Regions from separate parts of the Homo sapiens genome. Here region 2 is linked to region 1. The links are contacts of gene promoters, found by promoter capture Hi-C in blood cells and fetal thymus (Javierre and others, 2016). All regions are on one chromosome and are shown on one strand. The core of a region is centred on a gene start or on the middle of the fragment in contact, and the rest is flanking DNA. Distances in the headings are between cores, read along the strand shown. Region 1 holds the start of SPTSSB (serine palmitoyltransferase small subunit B). Region 2 overlaps PPM1L (protein phosphatase, Mg2+/Mn2+ dependent 1L).

Region 1 (4,575 bases), core at 1,961-4,460:
CAGTTGATACAATTATCATTACTTTATGTTCTTACACTATTATATTCTTAACAATTCTGCCTGGTTCTTCAAATTTCATTCACCTCTGCACAAGCTGTAGTGCTAACTAATTATTATCTCACAAGTTCCAGTAATCAGAACAAAAGAAGATGCCATCTCATGCACAAAAAAATATCAATTGAGGTGCTTTTTAAATTTTTTAATATCTTCCTTATCTGTGGTTGTATGCCACCTTTCTTTCCTAATGTTATCTGTATCTTCTCTGCTTCCTGATCTTTTCTAGATTTATTTCTTGATCTTTCCAGAGAATATTTTTTTCTTTTCTTGATCAAGTCTCCTTTTTCATTTTTGTTTTTGTTTTTTACTTTCCTACTTTATTATTTTCTGCTGTTATCTTTATTAGTTAACATAATTCTTTCACAATTTTTTCTAAGTCTCCTTGTACATTGTTTTGCAATAAAGACACTTAGTGTGTAATTTCATAGATTGTTTGGCTTTTCTGTATTCTCTCAATTTTGTTATGTAGGGTTTTTGTTTTTCTTCTGTTCCTAAAGAGTTTGTAATTTTCCCATTTGTGCTTTTTAATACAGATTCAAAGCATCTTTAAATTTCCAATAGTATATCAATCAGGGTAAATGTTTGTTGTTAATTTTATCCTTATTGTATTTTGATGGATGATGTGGTCTGTATGACTTCTGCCTTTTAAAATGTGTTGACCTAAGCCTGGACATCAAAATGAGACCCCTTCTCTAAGGAATTTAAAAAATAGCTGGGTGTACTGGCACGTGCCTGTAGTCTCACCTACACAGGAGGCTGAGGCGGGAGGATCACTTGAGCCCAGGAGGCTGAGACTGCAGTGAGCTGTGACTGTGCCTCTCCGCTCCAACCTGGGCGACAGAGTGAGACCCTGTCTCCAAAATAAAAATAAAAATAAAAGTGTTGACCTATAGTTTGTGATCTAGTTAAGTTTCGAGAATGTTCTATAGTTGTATGGAAAACATGTTAATATGTATTCTCCGTTTGGAGGTGCTAAGATATTCATAAAGATGTTCCTGTGTGTGGTTATAATACGTGTATGTTATTTAAGATTATTTTTAATGGTCTGAATACATCTGCCAGCTGTGCCAGTTTCCCCCAACCTCCAGTTGGAGTAGTTGCAAGGTCTCATATCCATTTCACAAACCTTTGCCAAGAAGGTCTATTTCTATATTTCCACAAATGTGCAATCACAGTATGGAGGGTGGAGTGTCACAACTAAGTGGGGGTAAATAGATAATGAAAAATAAGATTTACCAGTGTAAATAGAATTGGCCTCACCAACATGGCCTTGGTAGTCCCCGCCAAGTCCTTTCTTAGGGTTTCTATTTCCTGATCTACATGCCCTGAGTGGTCATATCTACCCTGCCAATATTGCAAGGTGTGTCGCGAGAAGCCAAAAGATAAGGAATGTGACCAACATAAAGTGATAAAGAAATAAATAACACTAGCAGTGGTTGCTGCTATTTAGACACGGGAGCAGAAGGAAATGATAACTACGTAAAATGGCTAACACGGGCCCAAGCAGGTGCTCTGTTTCTATTGGTTCCCTTCCCTGCCCCCATCTACCTTTAGCTTCCTCTGGGGACATCCTCCCTCCTGCATGGAGACACCACCGCCCAATAACGTGAGCCTCCCTCTTCGTAATAGCCCTGGCAGTGTGGAACCCGCTGAAAGCGCGTTGTGAGGATGAGCAGAGACCTGCCAGCAGCTAAAATTCGCGCTTTAACACAATCAGCCCTGGCCGAGCATGTGCAGTGTCTCCTCCTTCGGCAGTGGGGGCTGATGGGCAGATACTGCCCAAATGCTCATTCATCAAAAGAGGCTTTCGCTCCCGGACTCCCCTGGGCCTCGAGCAGAAAGCGTCTCGGCCACGGAGATACAGAACCGGGAGCCTTCAAGGTCCTCCGCCACTCTCAGCAAGCCCTGCTCTCGATGGAGAGGAGATCGCTGGGTGATGGATGTGGGCTTCCAGGGAAGGTGCTCGCGCTGGTCCCGAGCCCTCCGGGGAAGATATTCGAGCGCGGAGCGTAAGCGCAGGGCACGCCAGCCCCGGGAGCCGCGGGAGCAGGCGCCGCGCGTCTCTGCACCACCGGGCCGCCTCCCAGCCTTCTTTCCCCAGTTTGCCCTCCTGCCGCAGTCCGGGCCGAGATTAATTCTCTGCACTTGTGAGTGGGCACACACAAGTTCTCCGGGCACGATCCTTTCATCTATTTCCCTGGGGGAGTCCACCTTTTTAACGATTAACCTCCTAGCTACCGCGGGCAAGGTGGCAGGATGCGAGTGGGGCGGGGAGGGGCGTTTCACACGTTCAGAGGCACCAAAATTAGCTGCCAGTGCTAAAAGGCTTTGCTTTCTTCGGTTTTTGACAAATAAATGGGGTGGGATGCTTGCTTGGCCGCCCGCTGCCCCAGCCCGAGCCCTGGGCTCACTTAGCAGCCTGATGCCGAGTTTCAGACGCAGTCCTGCTGCGCTTACACCCGGGCTTCTTCGCCCCCTTGCCAAAGTCTGCAGCCCGATGGATGCTGGGCGCGGGCTTTCCCTGAGCGCTTTAACGCAGCTTAGGCTAAAGCCCCAGAGCTCCCACCTTCTACCTCCTGTTTATCCGCCCGCCCCTCTACCACCGCCAAAGGACGTGCCCCTTCAGTAGAGTCGGGGATCCCAGCCCCAGAGCGGGGGAGGGCGCCTCCCTATCCCCTCCTCCCCGTCCCCGCCTCGGCTCGGGGTTTTACTGCAGCAGCCGGAGGTGACAGCGACGCCTCAGCCGCCTCTGTTGCTCTCGGAGCCCCGGCTTCCCCTGCACCGGGAAAGCGCCCCCTCTCGAGAGGCTGGTCCCTGGAGAACTGCGAACGAGCTGCAGAAAACCAGATTTTAAAATGTAGAAGTCGTTGGGCTGCATTCCTCCGAGGACCAGTCTGATCGCCCAGGACTAAGAGTGGCAGCGTATGAGAAGTTGGGACCATAGAGCAAGGGGGGGAGGGGAGTGTTGCAGCAGGCATTCTCTTCTGGAAGGAGTCGCTGGGAGCAGTGCGGTTGGACACAAGTTTGCGTAGGAGTGTTTTCCTTTTGTCAATAATTAATCACCGGAATTAGCCAGGTAGAATTTGAGTTTTAGCAAGAGTCCTGAGGGCGGGGCCGAACACCTAACTCCGGGAGGCTCCCAGGCGCCCGGCGCAGTGGGAAGCTCGCAGCAGCTGGGGAGGAGCCAAAGCCTCGGCGCTCACCTAAGCCGCAGGGAGATACACCCAACTGGGAGGTAAGCATCTTCCAAAATACCTACTTGAACTGTTAAGTAGCTTTAGTAGGATAGAATTCCTGTCTCTATAGGAGGAAAAAATTAATACTGAGCTTTAATGCAATTTATCAGTTTATTATTTAACTGCATTACAATTTTCAGAATTGATGGATTTTTCCATTTACCTTTCACTATGTGGGAAACTAAGATGTTTCACTCAGTAGAAGCCAAACTTTAACACTGAAACTTTCCAAACTAAAAGAAGAGAAAATTTCTTTACTATTTTCACTATTTACCTTCGTGTAGTCCATTAACGACTCAGGAAAATATCATTGGGTTGTGCTTGGTTTCCTTCTTAAATATTCATCTTTACCTAGTTCCGTGCTCCTATACAATCCCTCTCTGCCCATAAGCTACTTAAACTACTGTACTTTAGGCAATAGTACACACAAGTCACCTGCCAAAAAGTGAAGAATTTCCAACAAGGAATACATTTTAACATTCTCTTGTAAGTATTAAGCAGTATGTATTTTCTCAAAGATACTTAAGTCATCCTTTATAAGTAACCAAACTTCTTCACCAAAAGACAGCCAGCTAGAGTTAGCTAAATAGTTAACTTTGCCATGGGGATGAAGAAGGTGGGGAAATGTTTAGAGTAGCATTTTAAATATGAGTTGGACTCCAGATTTGTTTCAACTAAAGTGACATTCAACTGGTTGGCAATTCACATATGAGCCCAGTCCACAATCACATAAGGAGTTTGAAGAATTGTTAAATGTAAGAACTAGCCCCAAAGTCCAAATAACTGCATCAGGGGAGTTGGGAAAATTGTTTTTCAAAAAGATTTTGTGGTGCAGTACTTATTTTGAATTAGACAAAAATTAAGAAAGACATGGTAATTTTTGCTAGTGAAATTCTAAAATGTATACATAAAAGTGTTGAATTTTTAATAACTTGATTTCCACATCTGAATTATTCCTATGCTGTTTAAAACAGGTCATTTCGGTGACTTTCTCAAGGGCTGTGAAGGCTTTGTACATAGATAACTAGACCAAAACCAACAAGCTGTAGTATGAAATGTACTGTCACTCTCATTATCCAGATATTTATTTACAACTATTTAATGATAATAAATTAAAAATTATTTGTCAAAACAAAGCATGGTCATTCTAGAATTCGACTAGATTTGAAGTTGAAAGTCGATTTGAAGTTGAAAATCAACCAGTCCTCAACTCTCATTGGTTTTCTTAATTCACTGTAAATTTGCAAATACTTTTATAAAAACTGCCCTTTATAATTGTACA
Region 2 (4,114 bases), core at 482-2,981, 350 kb after region 1:
ACTAACTAACTGTACGTCCATTAAACCCTTTTTCCTGTATAAATTACCCAGTGTCAGGTATGTCTTTATCAGCAGTGTGAAAATGGACTAATACACCAGGTGATGCTGACTGCTGCTCCTAGGCCTACACCTTGATTGCACCAATCGTCTAAAGGTCTCTTGGCCTGCAATCTCCCCACTCCCATCATAGCTGCTCCACAGTGCTGTCAAAGCCATCTTTCTAAAGCATGATCCAATCTTTACATAAAATTGCTTGAATTTCCTAGTAGCTGCTAAGCATTTACAATGTGGTTAGATATACCTCTGAGTGATTAACATCAGTTAGCTTATTTAAAGCTGAGAACAGCTCTGTGAGGTAGACAATATTATCTCCATTTTACAGATGAGAAAACCAATGCATAGAGACCTTGCGTAACTTGTCCAAGATCCAAGGTAGTAAGTTTCAGAGCCAGAATTTGACACCAGATTCCAGCCCTCATCTCTGGAGCCAGTGTACTCACTGCCCTTCTTCCCCTGCTATTTCTCCACCTTAAAATCTTCCAAAGAGCAATAGCCTCCAGGATTTAAACTCAACAATTGGCATGGCCTATGTGAATTGTTCTTGTTCACCACCCATTACCTTGTTCCTTGAGTCTGGCCATTAAAAACCAGTTTGGCAAGTACATTTTCCCCTGCACAAGACACCAAGACACTTCTATCTCCTTGTCAATTTTCTTTTTTTTTTTTTTTGAGACAGAGTCTCACTCTGTTTCCCCAGCAGGAGTGCAGTGGCGTGGTCTCGGCTCACTGTAACCTCTGCCTCCTGGGTTCAAGTGAGGGATTCCTGCCTCAGCCTCCTGAGCAGCTGGGATTACAGGCGCCCACCACCGTGCCCAGCTAATTTTTGTATTTTTAGTAAAGAAAGGGTTTTGCCATGTTGGCCAGGCTGGTCTTGAGCTCTTGACCTCAGGTGATCCTCCTGCCTCGGCCTCCCAAAGGGCTGGGATTACAGGCGTGAGCCACCACGCCCGGCCGTCAACTTTTATTCATCCTTTATAAAGCTTGACTAAGATGTTACCTCTTCTGAGAGGTCTTCCCAGCTCTTCCTCAGCAGCTGTGGATTAAAGGCCCTCCTTTTGTGGAAATTCCCCTAGCACCTAGCACTTAGCTATCTTTTGAAACTATACCATGCACACCTGCTTGCTTGTCTAACCCTTCACCAGTGAGTACCCCCTTAAGGGCAGTACAAACTCTTACCATTGCATCTGGGAAGCAGTTAATAACTATCTGTTAATGTTTGAATGTAAACTACAGCCAATGGCACTTTTAGGCCCTCACCTCTTACCTCCTTTCTGGGTTCCTTCTTTGGACTTCCCCTTAGGACTACATTGCAAAACTAGTCTTAATTATATTTCTTTTAAAAAGATTTTTTTATGTTTGTTATTATTTCCCTAACTAGAAAATGTAAAATATAACAAATATTCACGTACCTACCACTCAACTTTAATAACTTTTAAGATTTTACTTTATTTGCTTTAGATCTTTAAAATATTATTATAAGAAAATACATGGAACTATTAATTTCCTAGTGAATCAAAATAAACTCAATCTCAAAGAGTTTTTGTTTATATTTAATTTCCATTTTGCTTAACCTATCGTCTTAGTTTATTTGTGCTGCTATAACAAAATACCAGTGACTGGGTAATTTATAAAGAACAGAAATTAATTTTCTCACAGTTCTGGAGGCTGGGAAATCCAAGATCAAGGCACCAGCCTCTAGTGAGGGCCTTCTTGCTGAGTCCTCACATGGTAGAAGATAGAAGGGCAAGCTAACCAAATGCTGCATGAGACTCTTTTTTTTTTTTTTTTTCATTTACAAATGAGGTCTTGCTGTGTCATCCAGGCTAAGGTGCAGTGATGTGATCATAGCTCAATGAAGCCACGAACTCCTTAACTCAAAGGATCATCCTGCCTCAGCCTCCTGAGTAGCTGGGACTACAGGCACATGCCACCATGCCGGGCTAATTTATTTATTTTTTTTAAGTTTTTAGAAGTGGATTCTTACTATGTTTTCCAGGCTGGTCTCAAACTCCTGGCCTCAAGTGATTCTTCTGCCTCAGCCCTCTGAGTAGCTGGGATTATAAGCGCAAGCCACTGTACCTGGCATGAAGGATCTTTTATAAGGGCCTTATACCTATTCATGAAGGAGAAGCTCTCATGGCCTAATCACCTCTTAAAGGCCCCACCTCTTGATACTGTCACACAGGCAACACCTCAGTTTTGGTGAGAAAACATTCAAACCATAGCACCTATACATAAGAGACTTCTGGAATGGCAGGGTAAGCACTTCCAAAAGTCTGCTCTTCCACGAAACTATGAGAACACTGGAAAAAATTGTTAAAAACAACTTTTTCAGAATTCTAGAAATTAGCCTGAAGCTTTCAACAAACTAAGGCATGCTTATTTAAGAAGAAAATGGCTGAATATTGGTAAGAAGAGTGAGCTTTGTGTTGTTTTAACTCACCCTATTCTCATTCCTCTCTAGCCAACTCTGTGGCAACCTTGAAAACTAGCAGCCTTGTATTCACAGTGGTTGTGAAAATTAGCAGCCTAACCATCATGAAAAGGGGATGAGGAGGTTTGGAACTCTGAAGAAGAGCTCCATCCCCAGAAAACTGTCACCATCTGACCTGTCTGGGAGCTCACTGGAAAAACCTCATTTGCAGAGCTTCCTTTTTTTTTTTTTTTTGAGATGGAGTTTCACTCTTGTTGCCCAGGCTGGAGTGTAATGGCGTGATCTCAGCTGACCACAACCTTTGCCTCCTGGGTTCAAGTGATTCTCCTGCCTCAGCCTCCCGAGTAGCTGGGATTACAGGCATGTGCCACCACGCTCAGCTAATTTTGTATTTTTAGTAGAGATGGGGTTTCTCCATGTTGGTCAGGCTGGTCTCGAACTCCCGACCTCAGGTGATCTGCCCGCCTCCGCCTCCCAAAGTGCTGGGATTACAGGCATGAGCCACTGCACCCGGCCAGAGCTTATTTGATCTGATTCAGAGCTTCCGAGGTAGGAAAGCCCTATCCCCAGGGTATTGGTTAAAAGCAATCAGTGGCAATTATTTAACACTGCAGTCATGTGAAAGCCAAACAAAAGACTATCCAAAAATCTTTTTTTTTTTTTTTTTTGAGACGGAGTCTTGCCCTGTCACCCAGGCAGGAGTGCAGTGGCACAATCTTGGCTCACTGCAACCTCTGCCTCCCAGGTTCAAGAGATTCTCCTGCCTTAGCCTCCTGAGTAGCTGGGACTACAGGTGTGTGCCACCATGTCCGGCTAATTTTGCCCAGCTAATTTCACCATGTTGGCCACGCTAGCCTCGAACTCCTGACCTCAAGTGATCTGCCCGTCTGGGCCTCCCAAGGTGTTGGGATTACAGGCATGAGCCACCATGCCCAGCCCCAAAAATCTTAAGGGGAAGATTTGGGAAATGGATGTCCACAGTGGAATTTGAAAAGCTCCAACATATTCCTGGGATACATGTGTAAGACTGTGTGCATGTGCAGAAAAGACCTTAAAAGGCCCTAATTTATTACCTCTAGATGACTTTATGGCCCTACACAAGCAAGAAGTGAAAAAAAATAAGAAATGCAAAGAAACAGGAAAGTACGGCCCATACACAGGGATAAAAAACTAATAGTAGAAACTACCCCCAAGTAAGCCCAGATGTTAGACTTTCAAGAAAAAAACTTTAAATCCACTATCATAGTATGTTTAGAGAATCAAAGAAAACTGTGTCTGAAGAACTAAAGGAAAGTATAAGGATGATATCTCATTGAATGGAGAGTATCAATGAAAAAATTACCAAATTACCAAATAGAAATTCTGGTTTATATTTGCGTAGTAAATGAAATGAAAAATTCAATAGAAGGATTTTACAGCCGATATGAGGAGGCATAATAAAGAATCAGCAAACTTGAAGATAGGTCAATTGACATTACCTAATTTGAGAAATAGATAGAAAAAAGAATTTTAAAAAATTTTAATAGAGCAGAGCCTTAACAATCTGTGGAACATCATGAATTGCAACAACATATATAGGATTCCCTAAAGGAGATGAGACAGAGAAAGGAACAAAAGAAT

The links. The method cuts DNA at HindIII sites, captures the fragments that hold promoters and counts their contacts. A CHiCAGO score of 5 or more calls a contact.
Region 2: a fragment that was not itself captured here is called in contact with the fragment with the promoter of SPTSSB in region 1 in 1 of 17 cell types (M2 macrophages); the score reaches 5.4 in M2 macrophages.

The regions. Positions count from the first base shown.
Region 1 is chr3:161,370,152-161,374,726 of GRCh38, reverse strand. It overlaps SPTSSB (serine palmitoyltransferase small subunit B), which reads left to right and starts at 3,210. Exons shown (of 3, transcript NM_001040100.2): 1 at 3,210-3,292. RefSeq lists enhancers at 2,628-3,182, 3,183-3,737. The HindIII fragment of the contact is 7,803 bases long and covers 1-4,575 here.
Region 2 is chr3:161,023,313-161,027,426 of GRCh38, reverse strand. The region is part of intron 2 of PPM1L (protein phosphatase, Mg2+/Mn2+ dependent 1L); the gene reads right to left. Among named protein-coding and RNA genes, the nearest start is that of B3GALNT1, 80 kb to the left of the region's middle. The HindIII fragment of the contact is 1,377 bases long and covers 1,043-2,419 here.